4 separate regions of the Homo sapiens genome follow, and regions 2, 3 and 4 are each linked to region 1. The links are contacts of gene promoters, found by promoter capture Hi-C in human tissues and cell types (Jung and others, 2019). All regions are on one chromosome and are shown on one strand. Each heading gives the region's core, a stretch centred on a gene start or on the middle of the fragment in contact. The rest is flanking DNA. Distances are from core to core; before and after follow the strand shown. Region 1 holds the start of SEH1L (SEH1 like nucleoporin). Region 2 overlaps LDLRAD4 (low density lipoprotein receptor class A domain containing 4). Region 3 overlaps AFG3L2 (AFG3 like matrix AAA peptidase subunit 2). Region 4 overlaps LDLRAD4 (low density lipoprotein receptor class A domain containing 4).

Region 1 (2,695 bases), core at 134-2,633:
ACTACATCTTTTAAAAATTGCAACACTATTTATAAAAAGTTTATCTTTGAGAGATCACTGGTATCAAACTCGAATGTGAAAAAGGATAAACTATCCTTCAGATTTCCAGTTACTCTGGAGTTGTCGAGAACCAAATAATCCGCACTCCAGCTTTCATTCATCCTGCAACACATCTGGGAGGTTCCTAAATCTCATGTAGCATCCCCACATTAGAAATTCTGCTTGTAGGCCGGGCGCGGTGGCTCACGCCTGTAATCCCAGCACTTTGGGAGGCCGAGGCGCCGAGGCGGGTGGATCACGAGGTCAGGAGTTCGAGACCAGCCTGGCCCACATGGTGAAACTCTGTCTCTACTAAAAAATACAAAAAAAAAAAAAGATTAGCCGGGGGTGGTGGCGTGCACCTGTAATCCCTGCTACTTGGGAGGCTGGGGCAGGATAATCGCCTGAAAGCGGGAGGCGGACGTTGCAGTGAGCCGAGATCGTGCCATTGCACTCCAGCCTGGGTGACAGAGTGAGACTCGGTCTCAAAAAAAAAAAAAAAAAAAGAAAAGAAATTCTGCTTGTCGGAAGTGTCTACAGACGTTTACGGGAACTTCAAGAAACAAACCCTCCGATTCCTGGGCAGCAAGCAGGGAAATCATTGGATGTAAATGGTTTGTATTTTTCTTCCTCGGCGTAACAAAGTGAGCTTCTGCTCTGAACCCACGGAGAAAACCATGTGCCCTGGTGAGAGAACACCGGCGGGGCACAGAACTCGACGCAGCGCCAGCCAGGCAAAGTCTCCCACCAGGTCCCACTGCAGGTCGTCGGGTGAACAGCGCGGGCAAGACCCACGACGCCGAGGCTGACGGTGGGATGCCCCTGGGTTCCCGCCCGCAGCCCCGGCAGCGCGGCCTGGGAGAGGGCCCGGCGTACCCTGCGGGCGGGAGCGCGCACGTGGCACCAGCTGCGCAGGCGCACGGGAGGGCGGCCCGCGAGGCCGCCGTGACCCCACAATACGCGGGCGGGGAGGGCTTCCGCTCAGTCCAGCCAGGGCTCGCCCGCCACCCCACAGCTTCCAGCGGCGTCACTGAACCAAGACACAGCCCCGTTCCCCGCGCCGCCCACCCACTCCCCTTCCTTCCTTCCGGGGTCGGCCCCGCCCGCAAGCGCCGCGCGCACCTTAACGCTCTGATCGCTGGAGCAGGTTGCCATCCGCCGCCCGTGGAAGTCGAAAGAGACATCGTGGATGAGATCCTTGTGGTCCGCCGCGATGCTGCGAGCCACAAACATGGTTTCCGTCGGGCCCGCGCCTCCGAAGAGGACAGTGGCGGCGGCAGCGGCGGCGGCGCGTGGCCCGTAGCCTAGCCAGACCTCGCAGCCCGGGAGCGCACGGCTTGTGCTGCCCACGCCCCCGCACCGCCCCTGCCTATCAAGCCCCGCCCACACACCCTCCGGTCCTTCAAGCCCCGCCCCACCCACCGGCCCGTCAGGCCCCACACAGTCCCCTGGCCCCTCAAGCCCTGCCCACGCCCCGGCCCGTCATGACTCGCCCCACCTTCCGGTCCCTCAAGCCCCGCCCCGCCCCCAGGCCCGTCAAGCCCCGCCTACCCTCCCACCAGAGCCGTCATGCCTCGCCCCACCCTCCCGCCCCCTCAAGCCCCGCCCTGTTCCCGGCTCGTCAATCCTCGTCCCGCCCCCGGCCCGTCATGCCCTACGATCCTGGTGCGGGTTCCTCCAGGCTCTGACCGTTCGGCGGCGGAGGGTGCTCTGCAAAAGGCGAGTTACCTGTGCTGAGAAGTAGTAAGAGCTTATTGGTATACTGTGCAAATGAAGAAAGATGAAAAAGTGAAGACTGCCTCTCACGGTCCTCGGCCCTGAATCATTTAAGTCGACGTTTGGATGTGTTTCCCCCCAGACACATGCGAGGCGCGCGGAGCAGGTGGAGAAGACGAACCGTGGGTTTGGTCAGGAGCCGCGCTCCGTCGGGACGGCTGAAGAGCAGGGAGGGCCGGGGAGACGCCTGAGGGGATGACAAGCAGTCCAGGCTCGGCAGCCTAAGAGCGAAGGCTGGACGGGGAGGAAAGGATCAGAAGTAGTAGTTTAAATGTGTCAAGATTTTACAGGTAGAACAGGCCTGGGGGTGCTAGGAGCCACCACGGGGGTAGGGAAATAGTATGAATTAGAAGAGTCCGCCTGTAGAAACGTGTCATCCCGGGGGAAGGAAGCGGCCGGGGAAGTGGGCTGCTTGCTACCCGGGAGCCAGAGTCCTCCGGGGAAAAGGAAGTGAAGAGGGCCAGAGCCCCTGGGAAGAGGCCTGGCTCAGATCAAGGATTCTGCCAAAACCGGAAAGTGGAGGAGCCAACGACTCGGGGGGTTTTGCTTATCAGGAAAAGGCATTCTAGAGGGCGTAGTGGTAAAGTTAGGATGGGAGACAGTGGAAGCTTGCGTCAGGGGAGCGAAAGTACAGAAAAAAAAAAAATGAGGCTGCAGAAGGGACTTGCCCTTTGGATTTTGGCCAGGAATGACAAAAATGTGAGGTATGGTAAAATTAGCAGGCTGGAAAGTTTTTTAAATGATTAGTCCCAGCTGTCCCCTGATGGATTGCACAGAAACCTGCAAAGAGAAGTGGCGCAATGACCTGACCTTTTTCAACCATAAATAAGATTTTATTGCTACTTTAAGAGGTGGGCCCCACCTCTTATGATAACTGATA
Region 2 (2,695 bases), core at 69-2,568, 630 kb before region 1:
ATCCAGTAATCCCACTACTGGGTATCTACCCAGAGGAAAATAAGTCATTATACGAAAAAGATACTTGCACACGCATGTTTATAGCAGCACAATTCACAGCTGCAAAGATATGGAACCAGCCCAAATGCCCATCAATCAATGAGTGGATAAAGAAATTGTGGTATATATACACCATGGAATACTACTCAGCCATAAAAAAGAACAAATTAATGGCATTTGCAGCAACCTGGATGGAGACTATTATTCTAAGTGAAGTAACTCAGGAATGGAAAACCAAACATCATATGTTCTCACTCACAAGTGGGAGCTAAGCTATGAGGATGCAAAGGCATAAGAATAACACAATGGACTTTGGGGACTCAGGGGAAAGGGTGGGAGGTAAGTGAGGGATAAAAGACTACATATTGGGTACAGTGAAGGCTGCTCGGGTGATGGGTGCACCAGAATCTCACAAATCACCACTAAATAACTTTCTCATGTAACTAAATACCATCTGTTCCCCAAAAACCTACAGAAATAAAAATTAAAATAAAAAACAAACAAACCCTTTTCCTTTGTATTTCTGGAAGGTTTTTTAGGTTTTTGTTTGTTCATTTGTTTTTAATCAGTGACTCAGCTAGGGATGGAAAAAAAGTTAGATGACATATCCTGTCCTCCTTCCCAAACAGCCTGTGCTGTAAGGAGGAGACGTATGGGGGCAAGAGACAAAAAGGGAGGGGTGTCCCAGATAGATATTCCCATCAGAAAGGCTAGTTTCAAGCTCTGATTTATTTTCCTTTTGGCTACAGCTTGGAACATGGTAGAACCAGGTTGAAAAGAAGCAGGAAGCTCTTTGTTTCCAACACTTCACAATAATTTGTAAGATGGTCCTGAAAATACCCTCCACAGTGGGGCACCACTCCTAAATTGAGGCATTTCGGAGGGCCAACTGAGAGAGGTAGAGTGTGAAGTGCTCACACTCAATGCCAGGGCTCCATGAGCGTCAAAGCCGGGGGCTCTCAGGCAGCGAGGAAAGTTAACCCTGAGACAGAGGTGCCAGGGAGACACATCGGCCATGGTCCTGCCGCACATCGAGGCTTCTGGAGTCCTTCTTAAATAGCAGGTGCTAGGGGTACAAAGACGAACAGGACATAGTTCCTGCTCCCAAGGAGCTGCTGCCATGGTGAGGAAGATGTCCAGGTGGATGAACTACCACATGACAGGGATCTAAATAGGGGTCTGGACGGCACACTGTGAACAGAGAGCGGTTGCTCTCCTAGGCCCAGGGACAGCATGGGAAGAGTGCTGCCATGGCCGGCTTCCTCAGGAGCTGTAGCCCAGCCACATTCTGCTTTTTCCCTAAAAGGCTTTCTAATACCCACACACAAAAGCAAACCATGGGTAATAATAGCAGACGGCAGAACATCCACTATTAAATTTGATAATAGTGAGATGGGCTTTTGCAAATCTGGTCATCCTACCACTTTCTCAACCATCAAAGAAGAGCAGTGAGCAAGTGGAACGACCAAGAGTTAGAGCCTTCCCCACAGTGGTCAATATATCCATACACCTCAGTGTCTTCACCAACAGCCAAGGCTTCTGTATCCATCGCTATGCATGAAGCCCACAAGCCTCACTCTGGTGAGAGATACCAGCCTGGAAAAAATGCAGCTGTCTTTCATGAGGTTCCTGACCAGGAAATGCGGAGATGGGAACAGGAGAAGGAGCGCGTCACCCACGGAATGTCTGGCTTCTAATCCCTCTCCAGGATCTGTGTCTGTGGTCTCGGCTTCACCACCTGAGAAGGGTCTACAGATCTGAACTTAACCTGACACCAGTCTCTTTACCCAGATTGTTCTCTGAGTTTGTTCCTTTGATTACAATTCTACCAAAAGACTGTCACTGCCCCCAAATCTGACAGCAAATGAATTCTAGTCCAATGCTTGTTGGCTTATGCAAGGTGTGTGTTTTGTCAGCCTATTCCTGTCACCTATAATGTGAGCCCAGCATGCTCCTAGATTTCTAAACAAATTTTAAGAAAAAACTGTACAGGAGAATCAAGGAGAACAAACCTTCTCTTTAAAGGAGAGCAGCCAGTGGCTCACACCTGTAATCCCAGCACTTTGGGAGGCCGAGGTGGGCAGATCACCTGAGGCCAGGAGTTCGAGACCAGCCTGGCCTACAAGGCAAAACTTCATCTCTACTAAAAATACAAAAATTAGTGGGGCGTGGTGATGGGTACCTGTAATCCCAGCACTTTGGGAGGCCGAGGTGGGCAGAACACCTGAGGCCAGGAGTTCGAGACCACCCTGGCCTACAAGGCAAAACTTCATCTCTACTAAAAATACAAAAATTAGTGGGGCGTGGTGGTGGGTACCTGTAATCCCAGCTACTTAAGAGGCTGAGGCAAAAGAATCGCTTCAACCCGGGAGGCGGAGGCTGCAGTGAGCCAAGATCATGCCACTGCACTTCAGCCTGGGCAACAGAGCGAGACTCCGTCTCAAAAAAATAAAATAAAATAAAAATAAAAATAAAATAAAATAAAGGAGAACAAACCTTTCAGAGCAGTAACTCCTTCCCAAATGAACACTGCAGCTTTCCAACATCTAATAACATCCACACAGCACAGGAGGGCACACCTCCAGCCCCACAGAGCAGGCATGCAGAGCCATCAAGCACATCCTGGCCTCACTGGCGTCTGTGGCAGTCTCGCCTG
Region 3 (2,695 bases), core at 139-2,638, 610 kb after region 1:
ACTTCCATGTGACCAAACAATTCAACTTTTATTTCCCCAAGAGAAATAAAAACCTATGTCCATGCAAGGACTGTTACTACTTTATGTATAATATCAATAAACTGAAAATAACCCTGACTTCCATCAAGAATGAAATGGATATTTGGTATGTTTGTAGCAGTGGAGTGCCACACAGCAGTAAAAATGAATGATTATTAATACATACAGCAGTATCTATGGATCTCAAAAACAGGGAAAGAGGCCAAACAATGAAGTATGTGCCATACAATTTCATTTATTTGCAATTCTAGAAGCTAAACTAATCCATAGGGACAGAAGGCATGTCTGTGGTTGCCTGGGGTTGGGTGTGGAGGGAAAGACTCCCTACCAGTGGGTACAAGGGAACTTTCTGGGCATGATGAGAATATTCTGTATCTTCATTGTGGCTTGATGTTATGTTTGTCAAAACTCATTGAACTCTACACTTCAGATGGGTGCATTTTACCATATATGTCATCTCTCAATAAACTGAATTTTTTAAAAATTAAAGGAATTTACTTAATTGCAAAAGAGGACTGGAAAGGAAAGGCTGCCGAGCATCTTGGCCTGCTGTACCCCTCTTCCTTCAAAGGAGGGTGTGGCCACGTCCGACAGCAGAGTTGAATGAAGCCTGCATGCTTGCACAACATCAGAACTGTCAGAATGTCAAGATGGAATACTTTCAATTGAGTTTTACAAAAAGACAAGAAATTTGCTGGGTGTGGTGGCGCATGCCTGTAATCCTAGCACTTTGGGAGGCCAAGGTGGGGGAATTGCTTGTAGTCAGGAGTTTAAGACCATCCCGAGCAGCAAAGTGAGACCCTGTTTTTACTTAAAAAAAAAAAAAAAAAGAAAAGCCATTTAGAATTCTAAGGTGAAGCTGGACGTGGTAGCTCACGCCTGTAATCCCAGCAGTTTGGGAGGCTGAGGCAGGAGGATCACGAGCTCAGGCGTTCGAGACCAGCCTGACCAACATGGTGAAACCCCTTCTTTACTAAAAATAAAAAATTAGCCAGGCCTGGTGGTGGGCGCTTATAATCCGAGCTACTCAGGAGGCTGAGGCAGGAGAATCACTTGAACCCGGGAGGTGGAGGTTGCAGTGAGTTGAGATCGTGCCACTGCACTCCAGCCTGGGTGACAGAGCAGGACTCAATCTCAATCTCAAGAAAAAAAACACTCTAAGGTGAACTTATCCTGAGAGAAAATACTCCTCCTGAGCAGTCACTGCTAGATCACATCCCACTAAGGCTGATGAACTGTGCGGCTGTTGTGCTTATTTTTAGTCAATGAGTTTATCTGTTTATACACAGATGTTTTGATCAAGTCTTCATCTGTAGTAGGATCTTCAACACTGTTTTCTACTTACCAGGTATCCATCATCCCACGTGGCAAAGGACTAGGTTATGCTCAGTATTTACCAAAAGAACAATACCTCTATACCAAAGAGCAGCTCTTGGATAGGATGTGTATGACTTTAGGTGGTCGAGTCTCTGAAGAAATCTTCTTTGGAAGAATTACAACTGGTGCTCAAGATGACTTGAGAAAAGTAACTCAGAGTGCATATGCCCAAGTGAGTATATGAAAGAGTGCATTTCCTCCTCATGTATTCATATTTGCACGAGAAATTGACATTCTATGAATGGCTCTGAAACAATATAGTTGTGCTTCACTGTTTTAGGCTTTTTAGGCAAGGATTATCTCTTAAAAGAAGTAAAGCAATTAAAACTTATGAAGAGAAACTTTATTTTTTTGAGACACAGTCTCCCTCTGTTGCCCAGGCTGGAGTGCAGTGGCTCTATCTTGGCTCACTGCAACCTCTGCCTCCTGGGTTCAAGTGATTGTCCTGCCTCAGCCTCCTGAGTAGCTGGGATTACAGGCATGCGCCACCACATGTGGCTAATTTTTTTTTTTTTTTTTTTTTTGAGACTGAGCCTCGCACTCTTGCCCAGGCTGGAGTGCAGTGGTGCAATCTCGGCTCACTGCAAGCTCTGCCTCCCAGGTTCACACCATTCTTCTGCCTCAGTCTCCTGAGGAGCTGGGGTTACAGGCGCCCACCACCACGCCTGGCTGATTTTTTTGTATTTTTAGTAGAGACAGGGTTTCACCGTGTTAGCCAGGATGGTCTTATCTCCTGACCTTGTGATCCTCCAGCCTCCCAAAGTGCTGGGATTACAGGCGTGAGCCACTGCGCCCAGCTTTTTTGTTTTTTTTTTTTTTTGATCTGGAGTTTTGCTCTTGTTGCCCAGGCTGGAGTGCAATGGTGCGATCTCGGCTCACCACAACCTCTGCCTCCTGGGTTCAAGCAATTCTCCTGCCTCAGCCTCTTGAGTAGCTGGGATTACATTCATGTGCCACCACGCCTGGCTAGTTTTGTATTTTTAGTAGAGACGGGGTTTCTCCATGTTGGTCAGGCTGGTCTTGAACTCCTGACCTCAGGTGATCCGCCCGCCTCGGCCTCTCAAAGCACTGGGATTACAGGCATGAGCCGCTGTGCTTGGCTGAGAAACCTTTTTTTTTTTTTTTTTTTTTTTTTTGAGACAGAGTCTCGGTCGCCCAGGCTGGAGTGCAGTGGCGCCATCTGGGCACACTGCAAGCTCCGCCTGCCAGGTTCACGCCATTCTCCTGCCTCAGCCTCCCAAGTAGTGCCCGCCACCACTCCTGGCTAATTTTTTGTATC
Region 4 (2,695 bases), core at 108-2,607, 560 kb before region 1:
TTCAGAAGGTTTTCAATTTACTTTGCCCAGATCCATCAGAAGGATCACTATTTATAGCAGCTATACCCTTAGGAAATTTATTTCTTAAAGAATAAGACTTAAAAGTAAAAATTGCTCCTCAATCCATGGGCTACAGAGTGGATGTTGTGTTAGCAGGCATGAAAATAACATTAACCTCTCTGTAGGTCTCTATCAGAGCTCTTGGTGACCAGGTGCATTATTAATGAGCAGTAATACTTTGAAAGGAATCTTTTTTTTTCCTGAGCAGTAGGTCTCAACAGTGGGCTAAAAATACATCTATGGATCTATTTTAGATCTGCTGTCATCCAGTTTTGTTGTTCTATTTCTAGAGCACAGGCAGCATAGATTTAGCATGATTCTTTAGGACCCTAGGATTTTTGGAATGGGAAATGAGCATTGGCTGCAATTTAAAGTCTCCAGCTGCATTAGCCCCTAGTGAGAAATTTAGCCTGTCCTTTGAAGCTTTGAGGCCAGGCATTGACCTCTCCAGCTATGAAAACCCTACATGGCATCTCCTTCCAATAGAGGGTTATTCCACCTACACTGAAAATCTGTTATTTAGTGCAGCCACCTTCATCAGTGATCTTAGCTAGAGCTTCTGGATAACCTGCTGCAGCTTCTACCCCAGCACTTGCTGCTTTACCCTGCACTTTGATGGTATGTAGATGTTTTCTTTCATTGAACCTCATGAACCTACCTCTGCTAGCTTCCAACTTTTCTCCTGCAGCTTCCTCACCTCTCTCAGCCTTCATAGAATTGAAGTGAGTTAGGATCTTGCTCTGGATTAGGCTTTGTCTTAAGGGAATGTTGTGGCTGGTTTGACCTTCTATCCAGACCACTTAAACTTTCTTCATGTCAACAATGAGGCTGTTTTGCTTTCTTATCATTTGTGTGTTCACTGGAGTAGCACTTTTAATTTCCTTCAAGAACTTTTCCTTTGCATTCATAACTTGGCTAACTGTTTGGCATGAGAGGCCTAGCTTTCAGACTACCAGGCTTTCAACCTGCCTTCCTCACTAAGTTTAATCATCTTGAACTTTTGACTTAAAGTGAGAGATGTGCAACTCTTCCTTCCACTTGAACACATAGAGGCCACGGTAGGGTTATTATTTGTCCTAATTTCAATATTCTTGTGTCTTGGAGAATTAGAGGGGCCCAAGGAAAGGAAGAGAAGTGACGGAACAGCTAGTGGAGCAGTCAGAACACACACAACACTAAGTTCACTGTCTTATATGGGTATGGTTTGTGGTGCCCCAAAACAACTACAATAGTAACATCAAAGATCACTGTATCACATATGCATGCATGTTTATAGCAGCACAATTCACAATTGCAAAGATATGGAGCCAACCTAAGTGCTCACTGACCAATGAGGGGATAAAGAAAATGTGGTAGATATACACACCATGGAATACTACTCAATCATACAAAGGAATGAAATAATGTCTTTTGCAGCAACTTGGATGGAGGCTATTGTTCCAAGTGGAGTATCTCAGGAATGAAAAACTAAGTATCATATGTTCTCACTTATAAGTGGGAGCTAAGCTATGAAGATGCAAAGGCATAAGAATGATATAATGGACTATGGGGACTTCGCGGGGAAGTTGGGAGGAGGGTAAGAGATAAAAGACTAAATATCGGGTACAGCATACACTGCTCGGGTGATGGGTGCACCCAAATTTCAGAAATCACCACTAAAGAACTTATCCATGTAACCAAAACCACCTGTTCCCCAAAAAACCTATTGAAATAAACATTTTAAAAATTAAAATTAAAAAGAATTTTAAAAAAGATCACTGTCACAGATCACCATAACATATAATAAGAAGTTGAAAATATCACAAGAATTGCCAAAATGTGGCACAGATACATGAAATGCACCCATGCTACTGAGAAGATGGCACTGAGAGACTTGCTCCATGTGAGGTTGCCATACACTTTCAACTTGTAAAAAACACGGTATCTGTGAAGCACAGTAAAGCGAGGTACTCCTGTATAGAGTCACTGTCAGCGCCGAAACTGCAGACTTCACAGCTAGCACTTCTGCCATGCAGATCACCATGCAAATGACAGATGAGTGCCATGGTCAGTGACCAAGCAGGTCACTTCTCTCAAAGTCTGTTGGCAACTGGTTACCATGCCAATTTAAAGTCACCAGCTGCATTAGCCCCTAATGAGAAATTTAGCCTGTCCTTTGAAGCTGTGAGGCCAGGCATTGACCTCTCCAGCTATGAAAATCCTACATGGCATCTTCTTCCAATAGAGGGCTATTCCATCTACAGTGAAAATCTGTTGTTTAGTGCAGCCACCTTCATCAGTGATCTTAGCTAGAGCTTCTGGATAACCTGCTGTTTTTCATGTACAGAATGCAAAGTATGTAGCTGTGTTGGTCCCTGTCACCCAGGGGTAAATGTATGTGATGTTTATAAAAACGGGTCATCAAAAGAGGAAAACCACCAACAAAGTTAAAAGTGCAGCAAAGAAATAAAAAGTCCTGCTGGAAGTGAAATTCAAGCCTACCGTAAACGGAGTTATAAAAGAAACAGCTGGGGTGGGGGGAGGGGGAGGGATGGCATTAGGAGATATACCTAATGTAAATGACGAGTTAATGGGTGCGGCACACCAACATGGCACATGTACACATATGTAACAAAACTGCACGTTATGCACATGT

What was found. Contacts are between HindIII fragments. The study calls those that stand out against the background at their distance.
Region 2: a contact is called between a fragment that was not itself captured here and the fragment with the promoter of SEH1L in region 1, in 1 of the 25 tissues and cell types used here (lymphoblastoid cells).
Region 3: a contact is called between a fragment that was not itself captured here and the fragment with the promoter of SEH1L in region 1, in 1 of the 25 tissues and cell types used here (lymphoblastoid cells).
Region 4: a contact is called between a fragment that was not itself captured here and the fragment with the promoter of SEH1L in region 1, in 1 of the 25 tissues and cell types used here (dorsolateral prefrontal cortex).

The regions. Positions count from the first base shown.
Region 1 is chr18:12,946,699-12,949,393 of GRCh38, reverse strand. SEH1L (SEH1 like nucleoporin) reads right to left here and starts at 1,383. Exons shown (of 9, transcript NM_001013437.2): 1 at 1,162-1,383. The coding sequence starts at 1,272. RefSeq lists an enhancer at 203-804 and silencers at 736-835, 846-1,195, 1,236-1,685. The HindIII fragment of the contact is 16,054 bases long and covers 1-2,695 here.
Region 2 is chr18:13,572,909-13,575,603 of GRCh38, reverse strand. All of the region lies in intron 4 of LDLRAD4 (low density lipoprotein receptor class A domain containing 4), which reads right to left. Among named protein-coding and RNA genes, the nearest start is that of MIR4526, 37 kb to the left of the region's middle. The HindIII fragment of the contact is 8,876 bases long and covers 1-2,695 here.
Region 3 is chr18:12,339,094-12,341,788 of GRCh38, reverse strand. It overlaps AFG3L2 (AFG3 like matrix AAA peptidase subunit 2), which reads left to right. Exons shown (of 17, transcript NM_006796.3): 15 at 1,388-1,588. All of the region lies in intron 1 of LOC107985154 (a long non-coding RNA gene), which reads right to left. Among named protein-coding and RNA genes, the nearest start is that of TUBB6, 32 kb to the right of the region's middle. The HindIII fragment of the contact is 6,920 bases long and covers 1-2,695 here.
Region 4 is chr18:13,506,256-13,508,950 of GRCh38, reverse strand. The region is part of intron 4 of LDLRAD4 (low density lipoprotein receptor class A domain containing 4); the gene reads right to left. Among named protein-coding and RNA genes, the nearest start is that of LDLRAD4-AS3, 37 kb to the right of the region's middle. The HindIII fragment of the contact is 7,095 bases long and covers 1-2,695 here.